Regions from separate parts of the Homo sapiens genome. Here regions 1, 2 and 4 are each linked to region 3. The links are contacts of gene promoters, found by promoter capture Hi-C in blood cells and fetal thymus (Javierre and others, 2016). All regions are on one chromosome and are shown on one strand. Each heading gives the region's core, a stretch centred on a gene start or on the middle of the fragment in contact. The rest is flanking DNA. Distances are from core to core; before and after follow the strand shown.

Evidence for each region. Contacts are between HindIII fragments. The CHiCAGO score rates a contact against its expected background, and 5 or more counts as called.
Region 1: a fragment that was not itself captured here is called in contact with the fragment with the promoter of DOCK4 in region 3 in 1 of 17 cell types (non-activated CD4 T cells); the score reaches 8.8 in non-activated CD4 T cells.
Region 2: a fragment that was not itself captured here is called in contact with the fragment with the promoter of DOCK4 in region 3 in 1 of 17 cell types (total CD4 T cells); the score reaches 5.6 in total CD4 T cells.
Region 4: the fragment with the promoter of CBLL1 here is called in contact with the fragment with the promoter of DOCK4 in region 3 in 1 of 17 cell types (fetal thymus); the score reaches 5.9 in fetal thymus.

Annotation. Positions count from the first base shown.
Region 1 is chr7:108,587,275-108,590,536 of GRCh38, forward strand. No RefSeq gene overlaps it. Among named protein-coding and RNA genes, the nearest start is that of DNAJB9, 19 kb to the left of the region's middle. The HindIII fragment of the contact is 6,518 bases long and covers 1-3,262 here.
Region 2 is chr7:108,489,451-108,493,045 of GRCh38, forward strand. PNPLA8 (patatin like domain 8, phospholipase A2) reads right to left here. Exons shown (of 11, transcript NM_001256007.3): 8 at 1,960-2,017. Among named protein-coding and RNA genes, the nearest start is that of NRCAM, 35 kb to the left of the region's middle. The HindIII fragment of the contact is 536 bases long and covers 1,953-2,488 here.
Region 3 is chr7:112,204,257-112,207,831 of GRCh38, forward strand. DOCK4 (dedicator of cytokinesis 4) reads right to left here and starts at 2,143. Exons shown (of 53, transcript NM_001363540.2): 1 at 1,846-2,143. The coding sequence starts at 1,882. It overlaps ZNF277 (zinc finger protein 277), which reads left to right and starts at 2,439. Exons shown (of 12, transcript NM_021994.3): 1 at 2,439-2,551. The coding sequence starts at 2,461. RefSeq lists a silencer at 2,015-2,364 and an enhancer at 2,535-2,654. The HindIII fragment of the contact is 7,990 bases long and covers 1-3,575 here.
Region 4 is chr7:107,742,507-107,745,996 of GRCh38, forward strand. CBLL1 (Cbl proto-oncogene like 1) reads left to right here and starts at 1,636. Exons shown (of 6, transcript NM_024814.4): 1 at 1,636-1,670. The coding sequence starts at 1,658. CBLL1-AS1 (CBLL1 antisense RNA 1) reads right to left here and starts at 2,075. Exons shown (of 2, transcript NR_144537.1): 1 at 1,867-2,075; 2 at 247-897. RefSeq lists enhancers at 225-744, 745-1,263, 1,361-1,580, 1,931-2,110 and a silencer at 1,121-1,320. The HindIII fragment of the contact is 5,122 bases long and covers 427-3,490 here.

The DNA of each region.
Region 1 (3,262 bases), core at 191-2,690, 3.6 Mb before region 3:
CCCTTTACCTCACTGATTTTATCTTTGACTGCTTTTCCCCTTTGTATTAGCCAGGGTTCTCTAGAGCAACAGAACTAATAGGGTATATATTATAAATAAGGGGATTATTAAGGAGAATTGACTCACATGATCACAAGGTGAAGTCCCATGATAGTCTGTCTGCAAGGTGAGGAGCAAGGAAGCCAGTGGTGGATCAATCTGTGGCCAAAGGCTCGAGAACCCCTGGCAAACCACTGGTATAAGTCCAAGACTCTTAAAGCTCAAGAACTTGGAGTCTTATGTTCCAGGGCAGGAAGCATCCAGCACAGGAGAAAGATGAAGGCCAGAAGACTCAGCAAGTCTACTCTTCTGTCTTCTCCTGCCTGCTTTATTCTAGCTGCACTGGCAGCTGATTAGATGGTGCCCACCCAGATTGAGGATGGGTCTGCCTCTCCCAGTCCACTGACTCAAATGTTAATCTCCTTTGGCAACACCCTCACAGAACATCCAGGAACAATACTTTGCATCCTTTAATCCAGTCAAGTTGACACTCAATATTAACCATCACACCCTTCTTCATTCTGTACTAGCCAGACAGGAATCCTCACTCTTCCAGGAACACGCCAGGCTTGCTTTCTCTTTAGGGCCTTTGCACTAGCTGGTTCCTCTGTTTGGAGCATTCTTGATTATACAGCCAATCCCTTCAGCTTCTTCCAGTCTTGGCTCACCTGTCACCTCTTCAATGGGGCCTTTCTGGCCACCCTATTTAATACCACACTGTGTCCCTCCTCCCTCACACTCTCCATCCCTTTATCTTACTCTGTTTTTATTTTCACACAGCACTTATCACCTTATTTCATTACTTATTATGTTATTATCTGTTTCCTCCTGATAGAATATAAGCTACTTGGAGGTAGGGATCTTCCACTGCTGTGTCTCAAGTGCCTATATCTGTGACTGGTATAGGGTAAATTTTCCATAACTATTTAGTGAATAAGTAAATTCGACGTCATATGTGTATATCTCATAATTTGATTTTCTGAAAAGTTACAAAATCCTTTACTTATATGATAAACTAGACTCATCTGCATTGGGACATCTTCCTTATACCAAATAAATGATATCTGTTAATAAAGATATTGGGATACAGGTTTAGTCATCCACAAATTTTTTTTAAATTTTTTTTTAAATTTTTTTTTTTTTTTTTTTTTGAGATGGAGTCTCGCACTATAGCCCAGGCTGGAATGCAATGATGTGATCTTGGCTCACTGCAACCTCCACCTCCTGGGTTCAAGTGATTCTCCCGCCTCAGCCTCCTGAGTAGCTGGGATTACAGGTGTGCACCACCACACCTGGGTAATTTTTGTGTTTTTAGTAGAGACAGGGTTTCACCATGTTGGCCAGGCTGGTCTCGAACTCCTGGCCTCAGGTGATCCACCCGCCTTGGCCTCCCAAAGTGCTGGGATTACAGGCGTGAGCCACCGTGCCCACCTCACAATATGTTTTTTTAATCCCAAATGATAACATCTCTTTTTCTATAACTTTTCTATCATTATTTTTCTTCCAGATATTTTAGTGTGAGAAAATAATTTTCTGTTCAAATGCCATTGTCCAAACTGTCAGAGATACTATCTTATAAGGAATTATTATTGGAAGGAAACAAAATCAGTTTATATATCAATACTGGTGGATCTTGAGATACTTAGAAAACTAGGTCACATCCCCTCAGTTATGAGATCAGAGGGGAACTTAAAAGAAAGAAGACTTTTACCTTGTTAGAAAGTTAAAATCAAGTGTGAACTCTTTTTATGTAGACATCTTCTGTGTGAGTTTATTTTTTAAGGACTTTTATTTATCTTTTTTTTTTTTTTAAGAGACAGGGTCAGCCAGGCAGTGGCATGATCACGATCATAGCTCACTGCAATCTTGAACTCCTGGGTTCAAGCCATCCTCCAGCCTCAGCCTGGACTGCAAGGCATATGCCACCACACTTGGCTAATTTTTTAATTTTTATGTTCTTTTTTTTTTTTTTTTTGTAGAGACAGAGTCTCACTATGTTGCCCAGGCTGGTCTTGAATTCCTGGCCTCAAGTAACCCTTGCATCTCCACCTCCCAGAGTGCTGGGATTACAGGCATGAGCCATCATGCCCAGCTGAGGACCTTTAAAAGAGCAACTCCTCCCTGTCTCAATTCCTCTGAGCTGCTTGTATTGGCACAGTGACATGCAATTGAAATTTCATTTTCAAGCCATAATAAATGGTATACTGAAAATTTCCCCTATTTGTTAGTTACAAACAAAACAATTCTGTCTTTTCCTCCACTTCTAGAATATTTTCAAATTGGTCATATAGGAGGTCAAAAGAAATCTCTATGAATTCATGTTTGACAATCTATAAAGTATGTTTCAGCTGGGACTGCTAACAGAAAAGACTGATGTGAACCTGATATCACCAATGGCTACTTTATGGGACCTGAAAAGAGCTTCATAGAGGATTTCAGAGCCATTTAGCCCTAGGTCCAGCTGTGCCTGAAACCATCTTTCCTTGAACACTTCAGTTATATGAGACAAAAAAGTCTCCTTTTCACTTAAGCCAATTTGAATTGAATTCTAGCACTTGCCACTCACATGGACATTTTATCAAGTGTCAAGGGCAACAAGGAGTTACACTGAGTTCCCCCAGAGAAGGAAGGAGAAAGATAGAAGCACAAGGGAAGCTAATGTTTAGATCACAAGATAGAAACTGCTGCCCAGGAGGAGAGAAAAAACCCCTGAGGTTGGAAGAACGCAGGGTGTCTGATTAATGAATGGCAGGGCTATCCTCCCACTCAGCTGCCCTGGAGGATTCCACAGAAATGGCACATGCATGCCTGTGATTTGTTCCTTAAGTGCCTCAGCCTTAAGAGCAGTAGTAATGCCTGTGACCAATCCTGTGGTCAGTGTAGGGTATAGGGCTCCCAAAATATTGTGCCATGGCCTAACAGGGTTATCCAGTTGCCTCAGTGTGCTGTAAATTTTTTTTTCATTTTTACTGTATTCCCTGATGTAAAAAAAGAGATTGGAAAGCACTAGAAGAGGATTGCCATGTGAGGTTTCTATCATAGAGCTTGTAGCAGACAAATCATCATCCCCCAAAGATGTCCATGTCCTAATTCCTAGAACCTGCGAATATGTTGGGTTACCTGGCAAGGGGGAATTAAGGTGGCAGATGGAATTAAGTTTGTTAATCAGATGGCTTCAAAATAAGGAGATTATTCTGGATTATCCATGTGGACCCAGTGTAAT
Region 2 (3,595 bases), core at 971-3,470, 3.7 Mb before region 3:
ACATCTCAAATCTCACTTCCTTAAATTAGCTGGCCCTCATGTCTCTTTAAAAATATGCTTTCAAAGAACTGCTTTTATGCTCCATAGCACTTATGTATTTCAGGGAAACTACTACATGTCATCTGTGTGATTATTTCATTAATACCTATGTTGCCCTACAGAGCTGTGAACCCCATGTCTGCATTTGCCCACAAATGAATCCAAAGTGCCTAGCAGTGGGTGTATAATTAATACTTGCAGAATGAATCAAAGTATGAGTATGCCATAGTTAAGAGCAACAGAAAGAGCTGCACTTGTTTGATTTTTCATGGTTACAGTTCGTTATCTGAGAATAAATACAAGCTGCATGAAATTTCTAGGCACATAAATTCTATTCTTTAAACAAGTAATATTAAACAGAACTCAAGCAACACTCAGATCATTGGGTTTCAAACACACAAATAAATGAAGAGCCACATTGAGACACATCTAAGTGACATTACAATTTTAATGGGGATTCAATTTTTATAATAATATAATCTAATATAGTCATGCATTGCATATCAATGTTTTGGTCAATGATGGACCGCATATACAACAGTGGTCCCATAAGACTATAAACGGGCTTCTATGCTGTATTTTTCACTGTATCTTTCTATAGATATTTTTTATCTAGATATTTGTATATCTGTAGATACGTAAGTATTCTTATCATTGTGTCACAATTGCCTACAGTATTCAGTATAGTCACCTGCTGTACAGGTTTATAGCCTAGGAACTATAGGCTATACCATTTAGCCTACATGTGTAGTAGGCTATACCATCTAAGTATGTCTAAGTACACTCTATAACACAGGTTTATAGCCTAGGAACTATAGGCTATACCATTTAGCCTACATGTGTAGTAGGCTATACCATCTAAGTATGTCTAAGTACACTCTATAATACTTGCACAATGACAAAATAATCTAATGACACACTTCTCAGAATGTATCCCTATCATTAAGTGATGCATGATTGTATTGTATCTAAGAGGCATATAAAATTTCTCTTTAAAAATCTAGGGTAAGAAGGCTGGGCGCGGTGGCTCACGCCCGTAATCCCAGCACTTTGGGAGGCTGAGGTGGGCGAATCACGAGGTCAGGAGATCGAGACTATCCTGGCTAACATGGTGAAACCCTGTCTCTACTAAAAAATACAAAAAATTAGCCGGGCGTGGTGGCGGCTGCCTATAGTCCCAGCTACTTGGGAGGCTGAGGCAGGAGAATGGCGTGAGCCCGGGAGGCGGAGCTTGCAGTGAGCCGAGATTGTGCCACTGCACTCCAGCCTGGGCGACAGAGCAAGACTCCGTCTCAAAAAAAAAAAAAAACTAGGGTAAAAAATGTCATAATGTTCCTTAAATCACTAGATTTGATTTTTAAAATTATGATGAAATAATTCTTATTTTCAGTCCATCTTTCATGTTCTTCCATTTCTGGTATAGTTTTACCGAATTTATAAAAGGTATAAGGATGATATCCCATCTCTTCATAGAATGACTCAATATATAAAGAATTAATACAATCTGTAATACCTTAATAAAAGGGCCCTCAGGGCCGGGCACGATGGCTCATGCCTGTAATCCCAGCACTTTGGGAGGCCAAGGCGGGCAGATCACCTGAGTTTGGGAGTTTGAGACCAGCCTGACCAACATGAAGAAACCCTGTCTCTACTAAAAATACAAAAAAATTAGCCAGGCGTGGTGGTGCATGCCTGTAATCCCAGCTACTTGGGAGGCTGAGGCAGGAGAATCACTTGAACCTGGGAGACGGAGGTTATGGTGAGCCGAGATCGTGCTATTGCACTCCAGCCTGGGCAATAAGAGTGAAACTCTGTCTCAAAAAATAAAAATAAAATAAAATAAAATGGCCCTCAGGACAAGTGCTTTCACCAGACCTTCAGATGGAACTAGGTGTTATATTTAAGAGACTCTAAGCTTACCTTAGGACATGTGGGGTTTCTTGCTGTTTCAATCATCAGTGCAGATCCCATCCTATCCCTTTATTAAAGGAGAAAAAAATAAGTTATATCAAAATGACTTTATCTCCTAACAACCAGGAAACATACAGTATGCAATTACTATTTGTCCATGGCTTTGTCAAAGTGCTATGAAGGAAAACATGTAAGACTCTCCTCTAGGAGGCTTATAATTCCATTAATGCACATGAAACAATATGCAGTTATTTATCAACCTCTGATTCAAACTGCAAGTATCTACAGTTCTGAGGTGGAGCAACGAACAGAGGGGCAGTAACTGGAAAAGATGCAGGAAGGTTGCTGGAGGAAGACATTGAAAGACTGCAAGGCAACATATTTAAAGCTAGGACATATACAGATTAAAGGCACAAAGGCAAAATAAATCTGTTGTTTTCAGGGTCCTGCCAATAGGATAAAGGAGCTGTGTTGAGATAAGACTGCAGAAGTATGCACGGGCTAGTTAGAGTAACCAGGTGAGGACAATGAGACTTTAAGCTTGTTTTAGTTGGTAACAGCCAATGTCATCAAGAAAATGGCTTTGAAAATCATCAGAGTTGGCATTTGAATTACTATGACATTACAGAAATTGTCCTTGGGCAGCAATTTTTGCAATTCCATAATAAGAGAATTTTATTTCAATGCAGACTTTTCCAGACTTAAAAATTATGTATTTTCCCTATATTGAATACAAAGACTATGGTTTCACCAGCCTTCCTCATGAGTAAAACCATTTTCTAATGTGTTTTTCAAACAATACTCATGTTTCCCAACTAGAATATTAGTGAACTTCATAAAAAGAATATTTACAAACTGCTCAGTGATCTACCCTTTATAAGCTTTAATAAATATCAATGTAAAATACTTTCCAAAATGGACAAGATCTTTTGTCTTTCCCAACCTGATCTATACATTTCTACTACATAAAGATCAATGCATTTTATCTTTTTAAGGTTCTTTGTCTTTTCACAGAATTCTTACTGTAAAATTACAAGAGAAATCCTAGGAGCATGCTGATTTCACACTTTTTGGCAAAGTTCATATTTATTTATTTTTATATTTGTTTAAATCTTGGTTTTCTCAAAACCTAAAATGCTTTTAGTGAATTCACTTATGAATATAAACTTGTAAAAAAAGCAATGGTAATTGTTTATTTCCGAGATGTCAAAATATGAAAAAAAAATCAACATGCCTAGATTCTACTGATGGCATAAAATAGTTCCCTTAAAATAACACAAAATTATCACAGCAAAATAAATAAATAAATAAAAGTCCTCTCAATAAACAATGGGCGAAAAAATGCTACGACAAAAAAGGCCAGAAGGTAGATATAGAAGAATATTAACAATACTGGCACCCAGTGAATCACAGTCCTGGTATCCATGTCATTGTATACAGTCTCTTCCTATACAGACTCTTGGTTGGCATGGCTTTCGTCCATGTGACCTCAACAAACATGCCATTAAACTGAGGCTTGATAAGTGCTTATGCACTGGGGCTTGCTCTCTGGGAACTCTGAAACCACAATGATGAGACGAAGCTTGGGTGAGAATGACCAGGTGGAGAGAGAGGCTTCCCAGGCCCATTGGTAGAGCCACCAAGT
Region 3 (3,575 bases), core at 893-3,392:
ACATGAAGAAATCAAGAAAATAAATCCCATCCATAATCTGTATAATTTAACACTTGGAAGAAAGCAACATCTGGGATCGACTCCAAGCAGGACAGTTTTGCCTGGATGGATCTGAGCTTCCTGCACTGAGTGTTAAAGCCGCTTAGGAGGCGATGCCCTCGGGTCCCTCACCAGTCCAGCAAAGGGACTATCTTTTTCCCTAGCAAGGGTTAATCTACCTCCCAAAAAAGAGAAGAGTGAGGAGAACGAAAATAACAACTACTAACATCTACTCCTTGCCAGTAAAGAGGCTGGCAAAGACTCCTCTGACACTTTGAAGGAGGGAAAGCTGGAAACCTTTCCCAAAGGTGGGTTCAGGTCAAACTATTGTCTTGGTAATTAGTCACAATCCAGAATGGAAGCTAACGTGAAATGTGGGAATGATTTTGTTGAATCCTACAGTCCTTTCAATGGACCCCAAAGTCCTATCCCCAGGCAAAGTTGGGAAAAAAAAAAACAAAAATCCCCTCGGACTACGACTCCCTGGGAAGGCTTTCCAGATGTTTTAAATTGCAGGAAAATGAATTTAGAACATAAGCAGATATCTACACATCACCTAAATCACTAGACCTGTCCTCAATTTTAAAACACACACACACACACACACACACACAAAGTACACCAGTCGGCAGAACAGGGCATTATAGGAAATAAAGAGTGTTAGTAAAATCCATAATGCTTTCTGTTAGACCTTCTGGGAGGTTATAATTGCATTTGGCCGGCTGCAGCCTTGTCGGAGAGCCTGGCTTCTTAATAGTCTCAACCCTAAAAGGAGTAACTGTCAAGGGGCGACCCAGCTGAAATCAAACAACAAAAACGGGAACTGTAACCCGCCTGAAATGGGAGGAGGAAAAGGAAGGGAGACTCCTGTATTCATCAGTCAACATTAATGTCCTTTGTTGTTCACCTTTACACAGAACAGCGAGAGCTATCCTGTTCCTTTTTCTCCGAACGCCAGTGTCAGGGTATGCTTTCCTAAAAGCTATCTCCCTGCCCCCAAGAACCAGGCTTTCCGATCCCCCTCCCCATTTATCACTCAGCAGCCCTGTACCGCCACACCGCCCCCACTGCGCTCACCCGGGGTCGAGAGGGTGGCCAGAAGTAAAAACACTGCTGAAATACCCGTTCTTCTCCAAAGACCAAAGAACCGAGCGGCGCAGATGTTGAAATTTACCAATGCCCCCGCCCCGCAACATACACACCCCATAAATCCGGGATCGCAGAGAGGGAGGAGGGTCAGAGAGGGCTCAGCTTGTCAGAGCGGCTCTCTCCAGGACCCTGCCACATTCCACACTCCGGGAATGTCGATCCGAGCCAGAGGGAAGGGTTTGCGCCTCCCTACTGTTTTGGGGGTGTTCTCTCTGCCCGAGTGTTGTTGTCTCCCTCTCCACCCAGAGGAACCGTTGCAGCTCCCTGTCGCTTTGGGGAAGAAGGGTAAGGAAGGAGAGAAACCCCATTCGCCTCCTCTTCCAACTTGACACACACACACACACACACACACACGCCCAGTCGCCACTCCAAACTCCGCAGGCAGAGCCCGAAGCTAGCGGGCCGGCCGCGCGCTCCCCCAAGCTGTCCCGGCGCTTCGGGAACCAGTGCGGGGCGCGCCGAGCAGGCGGTGCGGGGCGAGAGCCTGGTGCGCAGCCCTCTGCCTGGAGCTGGCTCGGCAAAGCCCCGTACCAGCTGCGCGATGCCAGGATTAGGCATTTTCAACCGGGCGGAGCGAGAGGGGCGCGGGGGCAAGGACGAGAAATGCGCACTCGCTCGGGCCAGAGCAGAATAAAAGTTCGCCCCGCGGAGACTCACCCACGCCGTATTTCTCGTGCTCCGTAGGTATCCACATGGCTAAAGGGGCTCCGGGGTCTTCAGGCTTTGTAATCCCCGCGCCCCTTCTCCGGCTCACAACAATGCACAGTCCCCGAGCAGCGCTGCAGTGCCGGAGCCCAGCGGCTTCGCGCGGGCTGCGGGCGCTGGGCAGGATCTGCGCTGGAGGCTCCCGAGCCCAGCGTTGACACTGCGCCGCCCGCAGCTCTCCCGGCGGCGGCTGCTCACAGTCCTCCGACGCGCTCCCGGGTACCCGGCGGCGCAGTCATTGTTCTGATTCACTGAACTAAGCGAACACGCCGGGGCACTCTCCGGCGCACCCCCGCCCGCCAGCGCCTAGTCCAGCCCTCCCGTCCCAGGGCCCCGCAGCACGCTGGGAATTGTAGTTCTTGGCCTCCCCATCCCGGAAGTGGGCGCGGCAAATGTGGTTCGGGGCGGGGATTCAGTTTTACTGATTGCGTCCTATTGGTCCAGAGCGCGGCGTAGGTGTGGAGAAAACATTACGTCGACGGGGAGTTCGCCTCCAGTAGCGTTTCTACTGGTGCCACCCCGCCTCCGACCCGCCCTGCGGCCCTCCCTTTTCTTTTCTGCCGGGTAATGGCTGCTTCCAAGACCCAGGGGGCTGTCGCCCGAATGCAGGAAGACCGTGATGGGAGCTGCAGCACAGTCGGGGGTGTAGGTTATGGGGGTGAGTACGGTGCCCCGGAGGCGCGGCTGATGTGTCTTCCTTTCTCTATGACCGGGTGTGCAACGGACCTCTGGTCTGACCCTAGGAGCCCTTCAGCTCTGGGGCCACCTGGGTTCGACTGGGCCCCACGGGTGGTGGCCCAGCGGGATGGGTTGGAGCCGGTGGCGGCTACTTGGTTGGGGCTGCCCGGGGATGGCGGAGAAAATGCCATGGGATGGCGGAGAAAATGCCATGGAATGGCCTTCCCCTCCGCCGGGGAAGCTCCCTGAGCGTTTGTCTTCTGGTTTGGAGCTCCCAGCTTTGAGCTAGCTGCTGAGTGGGTTTGGTTCAGATCTGGTTCGCGCGCGTGTGTTTATAATTTTGGGATTAGCAGCTCTTTCTCCTCACCAGTACACTGCCTTGGTTTGCTTGGTTTGACCTCGCAGGTGTGTTTTATTTAGCTTCCGGAGTATTTCCAGTCGCAGACTGGTGGTCACTGCTCTCCACTCTACAGATTTGCCCAGTTTGTGGCTGAGGTGACCTCTGAAGGGAAAGTGTGTGTATCTCACAACCTCCCTGTAGATGGTTAACTGCTCTGGGTGTTCTTCAGATTTGTATGTGGAGCCTGAGAGATCTTCCCAGTCTCTGGGTCCTTAGAGAAAGAAAAGGAAAGTGATAGATAATTTGCACTCGTGGCTTCAAAGAACATTTGAAAAGAGTTTTGAAAACCATCACAACTTTGGCTGTACCTGACTTTCAGGTTGTCCTCTGATCCACTGTAGGAATAAAAAACCAAATTTTGAAAGCTGCAGGTGGATTGTGTTTAGGACTCTTTTACCTTTAGTCTATCCCTCCCCCATTCCCCCCACCCCATTTTTGTCTTGATGTGTAATTTAGCACAAGTTGTCTTTTTCTGATGAACATGGTTTGGGGCTTAAATATAGTTCTCAGACTGTTGCGACTTTGTTTTTCGATTTATTTGTTTTTGCTTTCACAGTTAAATTGATATCATCTTAAGTATTTACCTCAGCGGCACAGAGTTGAA
Region 4 (3,490 bases), core at 386-2,885, 4.5 Mb before region 3:
TGAAAGCATCTTGAAAACCACCTAGCAATACAGAACTTTACATTTAAAAAAAGCAGGGGTAATTTTGATTCACAAATGTCCTTAGTTGTGAATGTACCTAAAAACTTGTTTATAAAGCTGCATATATAGAGCAGAAAAATCTTTTACAAGATCTCAGGAAAATAATCACCAAATAACATGGTGCACTTAAATCGCACTGATCATCACAGCATGATTCACAAATAATACCGTACAACTACAAAGATATAACACATCGCTACACATACTTTATTTGCAATTCAGTACCATGAAAACATTTCTCTAAGAGGTCAATGTAATAATCTTTTATTGATATAGGAACTCTGGCACTGAAAGCTTGAATAACCCAAGGTAATGATGTCGTCACCAAGGGAGGACAAGAATAGAACCCAAATCCCTTGACTCCCAAGCTTGTGTTTTCCATTAATTGTGCTCCTTTCTATTCATCCAAGAGCATCAAGTGTAAAAGGCTGGAGAAAGGAGTGGACACAAATGAGCCAAGTCCGCAAGGTGGAGACTGCACTGAAGGTCCTAGGAATCGCCCCTTGGCACTTTCCTTTTGTGTTGGCTGAGGAAGATGAAAGCAGCAACAACCACAAACTCCTGGGACCAAGAACTGGAACTAGGTACTGCTTGTTGTGGTAACTCTCTTCCTCATTTTAGGCCTTTCCTTTTTAACCTCTCCTTCCGGCCAAGCCTTCGCGCTCTCTTCCCCTCCCTCGGTTTCTATCCGCTCCCGTTAGCTCCACTCCGCACATTCCTGCAAGGTGTCCCCGTTAAGAGGAGGCAGCTGCGCCGCACTGGCTCTCCACCCTCCATCCGGCCCTGGCGCCCAGTCGTCAGGTGTTCGAGAGGTTCGTAGCGTCACAAGCGCTCTCCCTAGAAAGTGAGTGGCAGTCAAGCATTATAAACGTGTTTCAACTGTAAAGAGACTTAAGAGATGGGAACCGGGGCATATACCAAGTTAGCTCTGCGTGGGTCTAGGTAGCTCGTCACGACAAAGCAAAATTTAGACAAGCGTTGAGACTTTCCTTCTAGCTCCGAGTTTCACAGCTCCGCCATCCCCTGAGCAACCTCCCACTGGAGGGCGCCTTCCGGAGCGCGCGTGTTTACACTTTTGCTACACCAGGCGGAGGAAACAAGCGCTCGCTGACCCCGGGGGATTCCAAACCGTTACTCCGCCCGCCGGGGTGGGGCCAGCGCAACGGCCGAGCCTGCGCAGCCAGCCGGCTCCGGGGGCCCCGCGCACTACAAGTCCCAGAAGGCAGCTCTCCGCGGGGCGGGCAGTCGCCTTATCTGCTTCTGGCTCATTTTTACCACTGCTCTCCCCTTCCCCGGTCCCCCTGGTGTCCTTTCCACAGTTAAAGGCTACTTTCTCTTGAAGCACATGAGGAGAAGCCTTAGCAACCTCAATACCGAAGTTCTTCGCGCGCTCGCTCTTTCTGCCTCCGCCCGAACTATGCCTGAGTCCCTCACAGGAGTTGGATAGTAGAGGCGAGAGAAGGAAGTCTTTGCAGGCCAAAATTGGGACAACCTGCTTGGACTTCCGCCTCCCGGCCTCCGGAAGGCAGTGCGCACGCGCTCGCTGCGACTCCGGCGCGGTTGACTTCCGCTCCCACTGTGCTCTGCGAGCCGAATCATGGATCACACTGGTAAGGAGGCGGAGGCAGTGGGGGTCCCGGTTCCAAGCCCCCTTGGCCGGCCTGGGGCTGGTCGCACAGCAGGCAAAAGGGATTATGCTCGCCCCACAACACTAGGGTGTGGCAGTGAGAAGAAATCTCACAGATGCCTTCCTGTGCCCGGCAGGGGCCTGCGGTTTCCTGGCCTACCGTCTGGTGTGGTACCTACCTCCTCCGTGCCGGCAACAACCGCTCCTACTCTGGTTCTGCTGAGCTCCGAGCCCGGACCAGTGGGCGATGTAGGCCTTCGGGAAGGGAGAGCCCCGGCTCTGTTTTATTTAGCCCAGCTGCTCTGGCCTACGTTATGGAGACTGGCGGGTAGATTGCGGTCTCCGAGTCGCGGAATCCTCTTTACGCTGGGAGTGGACGGGCGAGAATGGGTTGGAGACTTCCTGCTGTCTCAGTCAGCTTTGGGCGGGTGCTGCAGTGGTCACCCCCTGTCGTCTCTCCGATCCTTTATGGACTAGAGGGGTGAAAGAAGGGAGTCTGATAGAGTTTTTGGAATCAAACTCGGAGCAGTTTTTCTACCTAAACCAAAAGCATGCCCCGCGCTTCGGCTGAGGTCCTTACTCATCATTTGAGGGTATTTACAAAGAGGAGTTTAAAATCAAGGCATTCTCATACTTTTCTCCAAGTAAGAGTGGCTCCACCCTTTGTTATGTATTTTCTGGCTTTTGCTTCTTTGTGGTTCTTGGATATTGAATGAGTGCTCTTGGAGTTATGTGCCCCATACATTTATAGCGACCGTATCACAAATAGAGAAAAAAAGGCTTTTTCTTGAGTATTGAGTTGTCCTCACTCATCAGATATCTACTTGGTTATATAATTAGGTGTGTATGTTTATTTATGTAGGTGTGTATGTTTATTTATGCAAGATACATGCAGATATCTATAGGTCGGGAGATGGAAGATGGAATGGTAAACGAGACGGACCAGGTCCGTGATAGAACTTCTGTTTTATGGAGGAACACAGACAATACGTTCTTTTTTTTTAAATTTATTATTTTTTTAATGTTTGCGGATTATTTTGAAGAAAATAAACGAGTGCTGTGGAGAGATTCATAGGACGAAATTTCAGAGAGGGTTGTTAGGAATGGTCTTTGTGGAAGCTAAGATCTGATGGATGAGAAGAACCCAGCCCTGGGAAAAAAGCAAGAGGAAGAGCATTTCCAGCAAGTGCGAAGGCACTGAGGTAGGAAGATACAGTGAAGTCAGCTGCAGCCTCCTAATAGCCAGAGGGTAGGAGTCCTGAAGTGAGATTGGAAAGGAGGGCAGCAGGCACATCATTCAGGTCATTGAAAGCCGTGGTAAACGTTTGAATTTTAATTTAAGTGAATATGAAGCCATTGAACAGAAGTGGAGGAGGAACACAGTCTCTTAAAAAATACAATAGGCTGTTCTATGAAGAATGGTGTAAGAGAGGGAGGTAAGAATGATGGAAAATAGCTGATTGCAGTAGACGGGAAGGGAAGGTTGGTTTGGTGAAAATGAAGGAGAATGGGCAGCTTCAGTAAATACTCTGGTGGTGTTTGAAGGAATGTGAGAGAAAGGAGAAATGCCTAGGCTTTTGGTTTGAGCAACTAGGTAGGGTCCATTATTGAGCTGAGGAAAACTTGGGGCAGAAAACAATCTTTTTTTGTAGAGGTGAGACGGGAATTTGGGAACAAGTGTTTGGTCTTGGACTGCTAGTGTGAGATAACTACTGAGACACAGGAGAGATGCCAAGTGGAGATGAGAGGAAAGATCTGCACTGAAAATACGTATTTGGAAGTTAGTACCTTTATTTATAGCTG